2 separate regions of the Homo sapiens genome follow, and region 1 is linked to region 2. Evidence: promoter capture Hi-C in human tissues and cell types (Jung and others, 2019). All regions are on one chromosome and are shown on one strand. The core of a region is centred on a gene start or on the middle of the fragment in contact, and the rest is flanking DNA. Distances in the headings are between cores, read along the strand shown. Region 1 overlaps CUL4A (cullin 4A). Region 2 holds the start of GRTP1 (growth hormone regulated TBC protein 1).

The links. The method cuts DNA at HindIII sites, captures the fragments that hold promoters and counts their contacts. A contact is called where the count stands out against the background at its distance.
Region 1: a contact is called between a fragment that was not itself captured here and the fragment with the promoter of GRTP1 in region 2, in 1 of the 25 tissues and cell types used here (aorta).

The regions. Positions count from the first base shown.
Region 1 is chr13:113,221,448-113,228,459 of GRCh38, forward strand. CUL4A (cullin 4A) reads left to right here. Exons shown (of 20, transcript NM_001008895.4): 4 at 6,529-6,598. Among named protein-coding and RNA genes, the nearest start is that of CUL4A, 15 kb to the left of the region's middle. RefSeq lists an enhancer at 946-1,795. The HindIII fragment of the contact is 5,587 bases long and covers 2,831-7,012 here.
Region 2 is chr13:113,358,704-113,365,905 of GRCh38, forward strand. It overlaps GRTP1 (growth hormone regulated TBC protein 1), which reads right to left and starts at 5,427. Exons shown (of 8, transcript NM_024719.4): 1 at 5,317-5,427; 2 at 5,059-5,207. The coding sequence starts at 5,348. It overlaps GRTP1-AS1 (GRTP1 antisense RNA 1), which reads left to right. Exons shown (of 2, transcript NR_120385.1): 2 at 2,856-3,165. RefSeq lists a silencer at 5,011-5,305 and enhancers at 6,293-6,986, 6,987-7,202. The HindIII fragment of the contact is 3,925 bases long and covers 3,891-7,202 here.

The DNA.
Region 1 (7,012 bases), core at 4,374-6,873, 140 kb before region 2:
AAATAAATCTGAGCAGAATGGGATTCTGTCCCTTTGGAGCTTAAACCCGAATGGCGGTGGCAAAAGCATCAGGATAAGCATTTATGCAGTGCTGTGATAAGGGTTTTTTTTGTTTTGTTTTTTTGTGTTATTTATTTATTTATTTTTGTGAGATGGAGTCTTGCTCTGTCACCCAGGCTAGAGTGCAGTGGCACGATCTCGGCTCACTGCACCTCTCCCTCCTGGGTTCAAGCCATTCTCCTGCCTCGGCCTTTCCAGTAGCTGGGATTACAGGCGCCCACCACCATGCTCGGCTAATTTTTGTATTTTTAGTAGAGACGGGGTTTCACCACATTGGCCAGGCTGGTCTCGAACTCCTGACCTCGTGATCCACCTGCCTCAGCCTCCCAAAGTGCTGGGATTACAGGCGTGAGCCACCGCGTCTGGCCTGTGATAAGGGTTTTCAAAGGTTCAGATAAGCTCCTGGGACCTAAAGAAAGAGCAGCTAGCCCACCTGTGTAGGGGAGCATTGCAGGGGCGAAGCGATGTCTGGGCCATGTCCTAAAGGATGGATGAGGAAGTGGCAGGCGCTGTGGGATGCCAAGGTGGCACAGGCCAGGGAGCAGCGTGGGCAGCCCTGGCGCTGAGGAAGCTTACTGGGCAGAAGAGCCAGGTATGCTGCTGGGTGTGGGAGAGTTGACCACTGACAGGATCCCTAAAGGGGAAAATGAGAGGAAGGTGGATGCTGAATTGTGGAGGAGCCTTTGTTGAACCAAGAGGTTGAGGTTTATCTGAAGGTGGAGATTGAGCCAAGGTGTTCAGGCACAGCATGGCTGGGTTATGTTGGTAAGAAGTTAGTGTGCCTGTGTGTGTGCACTGTGGTGTGAGGGGTCACACCACAATGGTTTGACTGGGCAGCAAAACCACAGGGTGGAATGGCAGCATCCTGCCAGCAAACCTCTTATGGTTAGAGGGAAAGGATCTGACTGCTGTGGAAGGATGAACCAGACACGGATTGAGGCGGGGAGGGTCTGTCGTGGTCACGTTGATTTGGAAGGAGGAGACACGGATTGAGGCGGGGAGGGTCTGTCGTGGTCATGTTGATTTGGAAGGAGGTGAGGAGGCACTCAGGTAGAGATGCCTGTTGTGCATTTGGGGCTGGAGACACAGATCCAGTGGCTCCAGACATGGATGAGATGCCCAGGAAAAATGAGCAGAGTGGCCAGACACAGTGGCTCACGCCTCTAACCTTAGCACTGCATTTTGGGAGGCCAAGTTGGGAGGGCCAGTTGAGCCCAAGAGTTCAAGAGCAGCCTAGACGACAATTAGCCGGGTGTGTGGTTCACACCTGTGGTCCCAGCTACTCTGGAGGCTGAGGTGGGAGGATTGCACGAGCCCAGGAGGCCGAGGCTGCAGTGAGCTGAGATTGCGCCACTGCACTCCAGCCTGAGCAGCAGAGCAAGACCCCCATCTCTAAAAAGAAAATGAGCAGAGCCATGAGAGGAGGTGGATGAGGGCTGCTGTCAGGAAGATGAGAGGAGAACCTGGAGAGTCATCTTGTGGGAATCGAGGGGCGAGTTTAATATGGCAGGCGGCTTAGTGACCAGTAAGTAGAGTCTGAGGGGATGATGAGACCAGGAAGTGGCTGGTTACTGTGATGAAGGCTTTTAGGCTACATTCGTACGTTAACCTAGTAAACATGGGGTGTTTCTGTCCAACTCAGCACTGTGCGTTGGGGACCAGGGACAGGCATGAATGGCACGGGTCCTGCTCTCAAAAAGCTTGTTTTTGCTGGAAGAGAGTTCTGACCCAGCCCAGTCTCACCTGGGGAAATGTTAATGTGATGGCAGATGCTGAGATACTGTGTGGCAGGGAGTATTCCAAGGTCTGCATATTCAGATTTCTTTTGCCTCTGGGATATTCCAGTACTTCAAGTAACTCTACTTTCTAAGATTTAAGTAATTTGTTGTTGTTGTTGTTGTTTTGAGACGGAGTTTCGCTCTTAATTGCCCAGGCTAGTGTGCAATGGCGCAATCTTGGCTCACCGCAACAACCTCCACTCCTGGGTTCAAGCGATTCTCTTGTCTCAGCCTCCCGAGTAGCTGGGATTACAGGAATGCGCCACCACGCCTGGCTAATTTTGTATTTTTAGTAGAAACGGGGTTTCTCCACATTGGTCAGGCTGGTCTCGAATTTGCGATCTTGGATTATCTGCCTGCTTCGACCTCCCAAAGTGTTGGGATTACAGGCGTGAGCCACCATGCCCGGCCAGATTTAAGTAATGTTATGTACCGATTATATTTTGATTGTATGCTGATATTAGATTATAGATGAAACCCATCAGATGTGCAGGTAGAAAAAGGGCTTTTGTGGAATTGAGTCATTCACTACCATCTTCTTCGTTTACCACATCCGTTTTCTTGTCTCACATGTTTGATAAATTCTGCACTTAGCTGTCCGTTTCAAAATAGATAGCTGCTCTTGGTGACGTCCCTTCCTCAAAATAAAGGCCATTTGTACCCTTGCACTCATACACATGCTCAGCCACAGGCAGCTGCTGCAGAACCCACACCACATGCTGCAGGACCACGTGCCACCCAGCCAAGCTACGTGGGCAACAGGAGCTCTTCAAAAATGTCAAGCCCGCAGAGTGCGGTGGCTCACGCCTGTAATCCCAGTACTTTGGGAGGCCAAGGTGGGCGGATCATGAGGTCAGGAGATCGAGACCATCCTGGCTAACACGGTGAAACCCCGTCTCTACTGAAAATACAAAAAAATTAGCCGGGCGTGGTGGCGGGCACCTGTAGTCCCAGCTACTCGGGAGGCTGAGGCAGGAGAATGGCATGAACCCGGGAGGCAGATCTTGCAGTGAGCCGAGATCGCACCACTGCACTCCAGCCTGGGTGACAGAGCGAGACTCCATCTCAAAAAAAAAAAAATGTCAAGCCAACTGTCCTCAGAATCTAACCTGTAGATAACTATAGATGAAACTCACATTTTCCTTCCCCTGGTTCACCTTGACAGCATTGCAGCTCTGGTCAGCCACAGAATGCCAGGCAGTGGTGGACACCATGATAGCCGTGTGGTCAGAAGGGAAGGGCACGGGAGTGAGCTGGGAACCTTGGCTGTTGGGGAAGTTGCAAAGCTCCAGTTTCCTCTAAGTGTGCCTTTATGATCCGCACTGGCGACAGCAGGCTTTGTCTTTCCTTAGAAAGACTTTGTGCCTGTTCTCACTTGACCAGATATCGTGTACGGAGCACTTGCTGGCAGTAGGCCAAGCTCTGCACATTCATGAATTGCTTTGTCTCACAACACCCTGAGCCGTAGGTATCTTTATTGACCATATTTTCCAGATGAAGAGACGAAAGCCCAAGAGAACCCTGTTAATGCTCGGCCAGATCAGAGGAGACAAAACAAGCACCCCTGCCTTCATGGGTTGTGTGGATGAATGAGGGTCGGCCTAGGGCTGTCCCCTCGCGGTCTGTCCGGTCTGTCGGTACAGGCAGCAGATGGGCCACTTGTTCCTGGAATTGCAGAAGCAGATAACCAAGTGTAGAAAATGTATGTATCCCTCTTCTACCCCAACAGAAGCACCGTCTTTTTGCTTTTTCTTTTTTTTTTTAGTTACAGATATGATAGGTAGGTTTTTTTCTATGGTGTAAGCATTTCTGCTGTTGGATTTTGTTTGCTGTTTGAAGACCTGCCTAACTCGTCTCAGTAGGCTGTATAAATCGTTTAATGAAGATTGGCCCTTTTCTGAAGTGAGAAAAAGGATGGTTGCTGAAGAACCTATCTCGAGAATACACTATTGACAGACTCACGGTGTCTGTGTGTCTCACATCCTGGAATTACTTGCACACCATTGTGGCTATGTGTTATATCCCAGAATATGGAATTGATTTTGATGTTTAGAAGGCCAAAGCTTACTTAGTAAATGCCACACTGATTTTAGCTTACCATTTTGTAGTTTTTTTCTGTGGGAAATAACAAAAAAATTATTGATTGAGGATCTATATTGATTTTACAGAGCTATTTTAGAGGAAGTATTTCTCATTTAATGAACACTTTACATTGGACTTTCCATCTTAACAAGACACTGCCCCAGGTGGAACTCTGTCTTCACAACACCTGAGCTGCCCAGTGGTGTCAGATTGACTGGTGTCAGTTTAACCCCGTTAAGTTTAAAGGATCTGTGCACCCTCATCTGGAAGCAAAGCTCCGCCTTCGGCTGCTGTGGCCCGCCTGCCCGCAGAGAGGCTTGCTGGGAGGTCCAGGCCGCAGTTCCCGTCCAGCTCCTGGAGTCAGAGCTGCAGGATGGCTGTTGGGGGTCCTTGAAGCCTGTCCAGATGCACTTGGGATGGGTTTTTTTGTTTTGTCCAGACTGTTTCTGTAGATTCCTAATATAATGAGCCATTATAATTTTGAACAATTTGTAAAGAGTACTTCCAGAGGAACCTGTTAACCATTCAACCATTAGGTCTTTGCTGTAAGTGTCTGTTTTTAATTTTCTGGCAGTGCTTCTGAGAATTCTGCAAAGCCTCAAGAAAAAATAGAGTAAGCTGTCTTAGCCAGGCCCCTGTAGCTTTGGTCACAGCACTTCCTGGTGTGACAAGGACTCAGACCCCCCGGGAGCCCCTTGGCTATCCTCAGCACTGTTTATTCCTCCTCAGGCTCTGCCTGGCACCCTACCCTCCCTGGCACTCTTTCTTTGTCAGGCCACTCGTTGCCACCCTGAGACTCCAGCTCATGTCTGATTTGTGCATCCTACTTAACTGATGTGTTTTTCCTCCTCTCTGTGTGTGAGGATGTTGTCACCACCTCACATTGGCTCTTGAGTGTGAAGTGTCTTGCTGCACGGCAGAAACAGACCTAGAGAAGTCCCTTGGTTTGGCCAGTATTGTGTTGCTGACAGGCGGTGGATCAAGAGTTAAAATGTAGGAAGTCCATGTTCTGTCCCCTTTGACAAGCCATTTTCTTAATCTGTACAAAGGGAACAATGTCTGCACCACGAGGTTGGGGAGATTTTCAGTGAGAGTGGATGTGAAGAGTGTTTCGTAAACCATAAAGCAGTTTATTGTCATTGATGATTCTCAGCTTTGCATGAACCTGAGGGACACCAGACCACTTGCTCTAGGAGCCCATATTCTGGGTTCTTTGTCCTAAACTACTTTTTGGGCCTTTTCCTAAAAATACACATTCTAAGAGTCAAGGTAAGAGTGTTCCTAATTTGGTGCATGGATGAGAGTTCATGTTAGTTTTCATTGAGGCTGGAAGTTAAACCTGAGCCATTTTCCTGTCCAGCTGCACTTTGCCACAGGCTGGGCACACTGGCTCATACCTGTAATCCTAGCACTTTGGGAGACTGAGGAGGATTACTTAAGACCACGTGTTCAAGACCAGCCTAGGAGTATAGTGAGGTGCCATCTCTTTTAATTTTTAAAAAATAGTCCTAGTGACTCTTACCAGGCCAGTCACCATCTCCAGGAGCCCCCCTGTGGGAGTATGTTCAGTGTCTGCCCTTTGTGAAGTGGGGCCTTTTGTCCCGCCACCTACCCCCAGGGCACTTAAGGCCTGGGTGTGTTTCTGCCGGCAGGGACTTGAAGGTGTCTGGCAGTGAAGGAAGGAGAGGATGAAGGGAGGCTGGAGAGGGAGTGGCGAGCGGCCAGAGGCAGGCGGGGCCGTGGGAAGGGAAAGCAGCACAGGCAAGCTGAGTGCACATTGGTGATGAGATACAGAGATCCATGATTGAACTTCTAGTGTATCTTAGCCCACTGGGGCTGCCATGACAAAACACCATAGAGTGTGGCTCATCAACAGCAGGAGTCTGTTGCTCACAGCTCTGGAGGCTGGAGGTCCAGGGTCAAGGCACTGGCAGATTGCATGTCTGGTGGGGCCCCGCTTCCTGGTCCATAGCCAGCACCTTCTCACTGCATCCTTATGTGGTGGAAGAGGCAGGGGAGCTCTCTGGGGTCTCTTTTGTAACCCCATTCTTGAGGCTTGTCCACTCTCATGACCTAATCACCTCCCAGAGGCCCTGCCTCCTAACACCATTACCGTAGAGTGAGAGCTTCAGCCTATGAATTTTGGGGGGACATGAACATTCAAGACTAATATTCTTTCAGTATTCCAGTTACTGAATGGTGTGTAGTATTCAGTGGAGAAGGTAGCTGAAATTAAGGGGTTAAAATTGTAATAATGGCCGGTTGCGGTGGCTCACGCCTGTAATCCCGGCACTTTGGGAGGCTGAGGCCAGTGGATCACAAGGTCAGGAGTTCGAGATCAGCCTGACCAACATGGTGAAACCCCGTCTCTACTAAAAATACAAAAAATTAGCTGGGCGTGGTGGCACACGCCTGTAATCCCAGCTACTCAAGAGGCTGAGGCAGGAGAATCGCTTGAACCTGGGAGGCAGAGGCTGCACTGCTGAGCTAAGATCGTGCCACTGCACTCCAGCCTGGGCGACAGAGCGAGACTCCATCTCAAAAAAAAAAAAAAAGGTAATAATTAAATTGGCCAGCATTTTTAAAGTTTTCCTTAGCAGATCTGTACAGACTCACTAGATAGTGTTTTATTTTTAAAGAAGATTAACACGTGCTGGCAGGACCACTGCAGACAAATGGTAAGCTTGTTCACTTTTTCATCAAAACACGACCTCATCCATCTTCCCTCACCCACATGATTGAGAGCTGAGACATAGAAGTTCTGTTGAGGATTCTGTCTGTGTTCAGTGCTGTGGTTGAACAGCACGATGAGAAAAGCAGGGAAGGTGAACTCCTCAGCTCCTGTGAGAGGGCACCACTGACCCTCTTGGCCTTCAGGTCCACAGTCACAGTCCGCAGTGGTGACAGGGTTCTTAGATGCCTGCATGGGTCTCTAAATGTCTCTTTAAGCACAGTTTACTCCTCAGAATCTAGCCTGAATCCCAGGTCTTTCCTGCAGCTGCACAACCAGCGTCTTAGGCTTTGTAGATGTCTTGGCTTTGACTTGACGTCATGTATACATTTTTAGTGTGACCTGGCCGTTAATTACTTAA
Region 2 (7,202 bases), core at 4,177-6,676:
AATGCACACAGAATAGTCCATCTACAAAAGAATGACTAAAATAAAAAAACACCAACAATATGAAGAGCTGGCAAGAATGTGGAGCAATTAGGACACTCATATATTTGTGGTGGGAATGCAAAATTTACAGCCACATTGGAAAGGCGGTTTGTAATTTCTTACTAGTTAGTTAAACATGCACTTGTCACACGACCCAGCAATCCCATGCGGTGTTTAGTCAAGATAAATGAAGACCAAGTTCACACAAAAACCTGTAGGTGGATGTTTATAATGTCGGCTTACACATTCCAAATGTCTTCTGCTGATGAATGGGTTTTTAAAAATTGTAGTACATCCGTAAATGAAGTACCTCAGCAATAAAAAGGAAGGAACTATTGACACATACAAGGTCCTGGATGGATCTCCAACGCATTAGGTGAAAGAAACCAGACTCAAAGGCTACAATCTGCATGATTCCACTAATGACACCATAGAAATGGCTGAACTACGGGAATGGGGAAGAGCTCAGTGATGTGAGCAGTGGGCTGACTTCAAAGGACAGGATTGTTGAAGGCGACAGAATCTTGACTGTGGTGATGACTGCCTAGCTGCGTGTTTGTCCAAATTCACAGAACCATATACTGTTAAGAGTGAATTTTACTGTAAATTGTTAAAATTATTTGATAGGCCAGGTGCAGTGGCTCATGCCTGTAATCCCAGGAGACTCCATCTCTACAAAAAAACCCTTAAAAATTAGCTGGGCATGGTGGTGCACACCTGTAGTCCCAGCTACTCTGGAGGCTGAGGCGGGAGGATTGCTCCTCTAGGCTGCAGTGAGCTATGATCGTCCCACTGTCCTCCTGCCTGGGTGACAGAGCAAGACCCTGTCTCGATAATAACAATAATATCAAGGTTGTATTTAAGAGAAAGGTCGAAATGGCTAAATGCACCAGCTCTGGAGTCAGACACTCTGCTCCGCTATGACTTGCAGGCTCCAGACCCTGAGCGTGCCTTGGTTTCCTCATCGTAAAGTGAACAGAAGGCACCGAGCCTGCACCCAAGGCCCCCGAGCAGCTCTGGCAGTTGGAGCAACACCCGGAAGCTTCACGGAACAAAGAATTCTGCGACTTTTTGATAAGTTTGTTATCTGGATTTACACTGTTTCTTTATAGAAGAAAGAAAATTGTTTACTTGTCCTCACAGACTGACACTTTCCCAAGGGCAGGGCTAACGCACAGAGCATCACTAATGTTTGGAGAAGTATAAAATATCAAGTCAAAACAGTTGGGAAATTTTTAAAAAGAAGCTACATCCAGAGAACTGACGTCCATCTGTCTACCCTGACAAAGTTAGGCAAATCCCCAGTTTTTCGGTGTATCTTTGAAAATATGTTTTCTCGATTTAACTTAGGTGGTGTTAATATTCTAAGCCACCAGGAAGGAGGTCTCAAAGAAGCCAACGGCCCTGAAGCTGCTTCCCTGCAGACGTCTATTCTCGAGATGGAGAATGAAATAGGAATCCAACAGGACTAAGTTTGTTGAATTTAGTCTTTCCAGGGAGGAAGAGGAAGCTGTCTTCCTAAGGGCTCCTGGTGGATATTTGCTATGGAAAAAGGAAAATACAATATTTATTGTACCCACCAAGAGTGTGATCAGGCAGAATACATAATAACTGTCCCTTAAGACATGTGGAATGCTGAGATTGGTAGATGATTGTGTTCCTGGAGACTTTAACATGGGGAGTGCAGATGAAAACCCTCCAAAAGGAGAGGAAAGAACTCTATCACTGTCAGCCTGGAATACCTGGCAGGAAGAAGTGGTATTCCCATTTTTGGAATAACTCGTCCACTCCAGTTTTATACCCGACCCTCTGCTCTTGGGGCTTTGCCAGTGCTCATGGGCACCCTGACGGTCACACTGGGACCCAGGCCCCAGGCCAGTAGAGACACGCGATCACTGACTCCATGTGCCTCCCACCGGAGTCACCAGCATCCCTACTCCCTGCAGAACAGGCCCACAGCCCTGTGGCTCCCACCCCTCAGGCTGAGGCTCATATAGGATCAAAGAGATATATTTGCTCACAGACCCATTTATGCCAGTGATGCTTGCTACCATAATTACATGGTCCACTTAACATTACATAAATTAGCCCAGCATGGTGGCTCACGCCTGTCATCCCAGCATTTTGGGAGGCTGAGGTGGGCGGATCACTGGAGCTCAGGAGTTCGAGACCAGCCTGGCCAACAAGGCAAAACCCATCTCTCCTAAAAACACAAAAATTAGCCGGGCATGGTGGCGAGTGCCTGTAATCCCAGTTACTCAGGAGGCTGAGGCAGGAGAATTGCTTGAACCTGGGAGGCAGAGGTTGCAGTGAGCCGAGATTGCGCCACTACCCTCCAGCCAGGCTGACAGAGCTAGACTTTGACTCAAAAAAAAAAAAAAAAAAAAAATTAAAGCAAAAAGAAGAAAGTTGTTACTTCAATAAAAACAAAATGAAATTTTTAGAAAGAGTTGATAGAGACCAATGCTAAAAAAAAAAAAAAAAAAAAGCAAAAACAAAACTGTTGACTTAGGTGTAAAATAATTGCAAAGGAGTGGGGAAAAGAATAAAAATCTGGAGGATTTTGCATCCGGATTGCTCTTTTCCTTTTCCCTGCTCTTCCCAGAACCCCCTCCCAAGTCCATATTGGAAAGTGGGGGCAATGTGCTGAGTGGTTCCCTAAAAAGGAAAATATGGAACCCAAGTTAGCAGCTCCTGGTCGAAGAAAAGGACAGCAATAGGACAGACCCAAATGGCAAAGGCAAAGACGGGAGAATGACTGTGCAGTTGTGTTTTCTGTAAAAACAAAAATTTATGCACAACCATACATCTTTCAGATTCTCCGCTGTAACCAACCTCCAGGTCACAGCCACAGGACTTCCCACGGACTTCCCCTGCTCTTAAAGCAAACTGCAGAACCAAGCGTGGACTTCTGCTCCTGAGGGGGACGGAAGGACAGTCCCCTGCGGTCATCTCTATAGGAGATGGGGGCCATGGGTGGGAGAGAAACTCCCTGTTGCACTTTGTAGCCCTCAGTATGATTAAAGTGTTTACCATGTACATAAATTATGCTTTTTAAGTTCACATGTCTTATATACTTTTACGTTACTTTTTAAAATTAAAAGACAGTTAACTTTTAAGAATAAATCAGGCGCAGTGGCTCATGCCTGTAATCCCAGCATTTTGGGAGGCCAACGTGGGCAGATCCCTTGAGGTCAGGAGTTTGAGACCAGCCTGGCCAATATGGTAAAACCCATCTCTACTAAAAAATAGAAAAATTAGCCTGGCGTGGTGGTAGGTGCCTGTAATCCCAGCTACTTGGGAGGCTGAGGCAGGAAAATCGCTTGAACCCAGGAGGCAGAGGTTGCAATGAGCTGAAATCATGCCACTGCACTCTAGCCTGGGCGACAGAGTGAGACTCCGTCTCAAAATAAAAAAAATAAGAAAATAAAAAATAAATTAGCCAGGTGTAGTGGTGTGCACCTGTAATCCCAGCTACTCAGGAGGCTGAGGCAGGAGAATCACTTGAACCCAGGAGGTGGAGGTTGCAGTCAGCTGAGATCGCACCACTGCACTCCAGCCTGGGCGACAGAGTGAGACTCTGTCTCAAAAATAAATAAATCAAAAAGAATAAATGAAAAGGAAAAATAAAGACACACGTTCCACTGGAAACATGTGAACATGCAGAGGCCACAGGGATGGGACATGATGCATTCGTGGGAAGCATATAGGATATTAACTTCCATCTCTATAAAAAATTTAAAAATTAGCCAGGAGTGGTGGCCACACCAGTGGTCCCAGCTATGCGGGAGGCTGAGAGGGGAGGATGGCTGGAGCCCAGGAGGTCAAGGCTACAGTGAGTGGTGATTGTGCCACTGCACTCAGAGGGATACCCTGTCTCAAATAAATAAATAAAAGCAAAAGTTGATCTTGTCACCCCCTGCCTGGAAAACCTTTAACAGTTGGCTTCTCTGTGCCTGGCCGTGGTCACCACACACCTCCGACCCTCCGCCCAGGTGCAGGGCCCCTGGTTTCATCTCTGTCCTTCCCCACCAGGTCCCTACTGCTCGGTCCCTGGAAGCCCAGCTGCCATTCACATCCCCCTTCTCAGGAAGCCCCCAGGACTCCCCTTTGACCCCACTTCTCTGAGTTCCTAGCTCCAGGGCACACTCCCACCAAGCCCTCACCCCAGGCAGACACTTCATTCATTCACTGAACACACAGGGAAGTCGCCTGGCACTGCCCCAGGTTCTGAGGACTGAGCAGTGAATGAAAAATCCGTTGCAGGGAGGAAGGGTTTTTGACTCCAGCAGGGGCTGTGCTGGGAAAGGCAGAAATGAGGAGGTGCCCTCCGCACAGGGAAGCCTGGGGCGCCCCGGAGGAGGGGGCCCTGCAGCTAACCCCGAGGCGGGCGGGCGGTCAGGCCGGTGCTCACCGCAGCAGTAGGAGGCCTGGGGTCGCGGAGGAGCGGCAGGTCGAGCAGGGCCCTGTGGGTCCCGTCACAAGGACGGAGTCTCGCTCTGTCGCCCAGGCTGGAGTGCAATGGCGCAATCTCGGCTCACTGCAACCTCCGCCTACTGGGTTCAAGCGATTCTCCTGCCTCAGCCTCCAGAGTAGCTGGGACTACAGGCAGGAGCCACCACGCCCGGCTAATTTTGTATTTTTAGTAGAGACGGGGTTTCACCATGTTGGTCAGGCTGGTCTCAAACTCCTGACCTCGTGATCCGCCCGCCTCGGCCTCCCAAAGCGCTGGGATTACAGGCGTGAGCCACCGCGCCCGGCATGGATCGAGTTTTGATCCATCCCGATATGGCTCCCTGCTGGGAGGGACGGGTCTCCTTCGCGTCCGACCCGCCGGCCCATCTCAAAGCGGGAAAACCGGTCCCTGCGGCTGCCCTAGCTCGGAGCCCGCAGCTTCGTCCCGACCTGCCCGGAAAGGTTCCTCCCCCTCCCTCCGCTCCGGGAGCCCGGACTTTGCCCGGCCCGTCCCAGCCCAACCCACCTGCGCCCTCGGGACCCACCTGCGCCCCCGGGACCCACCTGTCCGGCTCCTGGGGACGCCCCCGCCCTGCAGCAGCCGGGACCATTTGATCGCCCTGCGGGTGAGCGTGACCAGGTAGCTGGAGAAAAACTTCTCGTAGGCGGCGTCGTCGAAGTCCTCAGGCCGCTCGAATCCGTACGGGTCGATCCTGCAAAACCGAGAGAAGGAGGCCGGCGTCCCCGAAGTTTCCTCTGGGGGGTCGCGGGCCCGCGCGGGGACCGCAGCCGCCGGGGACGCCCGCACCCCGCGCCACACACCTGGGGACCCGCGAGCGCTCGGCGGGCTGCATGCGGGGAGGGAGGCGCGCACCGAGCGAGGCCAGCGGGTCCCAAGTTCGCCTCCCGGCTCCGGGGCGCTTAAGTCCTTCCGGCGGGACCGCGGGCGCGTGGGGGCGGGGCGGGGAGCGGAGAGGGGCGGGGCTGGAGGCGGGGGCGGGGGGGGGCAGGGCGGGGGGAGGGGCGGCTGGGGGCGGGGAGGACTTGGGGAGAGAGGAGGGGCAGGAGCGGGGGAGGGGCAGGGGAGCACCCAGGGCGGGGGAGGGGCGGGGCTGGGGGCGGGAGGACCTGGGGAGAGAGGAGGGGCAGGAGCGGGTGAGGGGCGGGGGAGGGCCGGGGGAGGGGCAGGGGAGCACCCAGGGCGGGGGAGGGGCGGGGCTGGGGGGGCGGGAGGACTTGGGGAGAGAGGAGGGTGGGGGCGGGGCGGGGCCTGCTCCCGGGGCTTCCGAGGCCGCGGCGTCCCGCGGGCAGAATCGGGGGCGCCTCCCGCAGAACCCCCGCGGCCTGGACCCGGGTGAGAGGAGCTTCTTCTGCGATTCCTTCAAACCTCAGTGCCTGGCCGACCCGACTCTGACACCTGACTCCTATTTTTATTTTATTTTTTATTTTCTCCGCTGCATTTCAAGGCCGAGACCAACACACAAATGAGAAGCCCCCAGGGGCGCCCGCCCGTTCCTGCCCCCCCAAACCAGGGACCGGGGTCCCCCCACCGGCGAGCCAGGCCTGGGAGAATCCGGGGCAGCTCTGGTTCCGAACGGCTTCTTCTCGGTCCGCATCCAATGACATTGTCCTGAGATTTCAGCTGCTTTTCGTGTCCGGGAGGCCCCGGAAATTTGCCAGAACTGCAGATTTTGAATTTTGCTCTGGCGACGTGGCAAAGGGGAGCCCCCAGACGTGAGGCGCTGGGGCGACCTCGCCCTGGGTCCCCCAGGGGTCTGGAGCGGGGGCTCCTCCGACAGGCCTCTCCCCGCCTGTAATTTAGGCCCAGGGCGACCTGGACAGGCCCCAGGAGGAGGCCGTCCCCGGACTCCAGACGCACTTTCCTGTGAGAAGCAGCCCGGCCTCGTCTGGGTGAGGCGAGGATCACAGGCTCAGCGTCCCCTGCGCGTCCGTCAGGGCCTTTCGGAACCAACTTGGGACCTTCCCATGGGTGTTTCCGGAATGTTCCATGCGAGCGCCACCCAGGAGCCTGGTCAGCAGCGTGTGGAACGGACCGGTCCCTAAGTGCGGACTCCCGCCTCTGCCTTTCACCCTTCTCCAGCCCTTGCAAGACCGGGGGGCGGGGTGGGGGTCAGTGCCCAGCGGAGCAGAGCCCCCGACACGGTTCCTCCCGTTCCTAGTCTGCTGGTTCTGGGAACTCCCCAAGCTTTCAGCCCAGCTCCTCAGCACTGGCCTTTGGTAACACGCGGCGTCCCTCATTTGAAAGATCACACAGCCCCCACTCTACGGTCTGACCTCCTTGGGATGTTTAGACCCAAGCCAGGAGACAGGGCCATAGCCTCCTGCCCCTCGGCCTACGGGTGCCCCACAGTCCAGGACTGACAGGTGGGCGTCCGTCCCCAGGGTCTTCGAACCCCGTCTGGGCTCCTCTCTGCCTAAGTCAGTGACTCCCTGAACCCCTCTCGGGCTCTAACTGACGCCCGAATTTCCTATATCGCATCCCTCGCGCTTTCTGGAGCAACAGACACAGTCCTGCTCCCCACTTCCCAGCACCCGGGGTCCTGCGCCCAAATCGCCCCACACCGCGCAGCTTCTGTTCCAACCCCAGGCCTGGAAGCCTCACGGCTCCCCTTTTCCCTAATTCCTGCCTTCTGGCCATGGAGATGGGGTTCTAACCTCCCTTTCCCACCACTGCCGTGGAAAGCAGC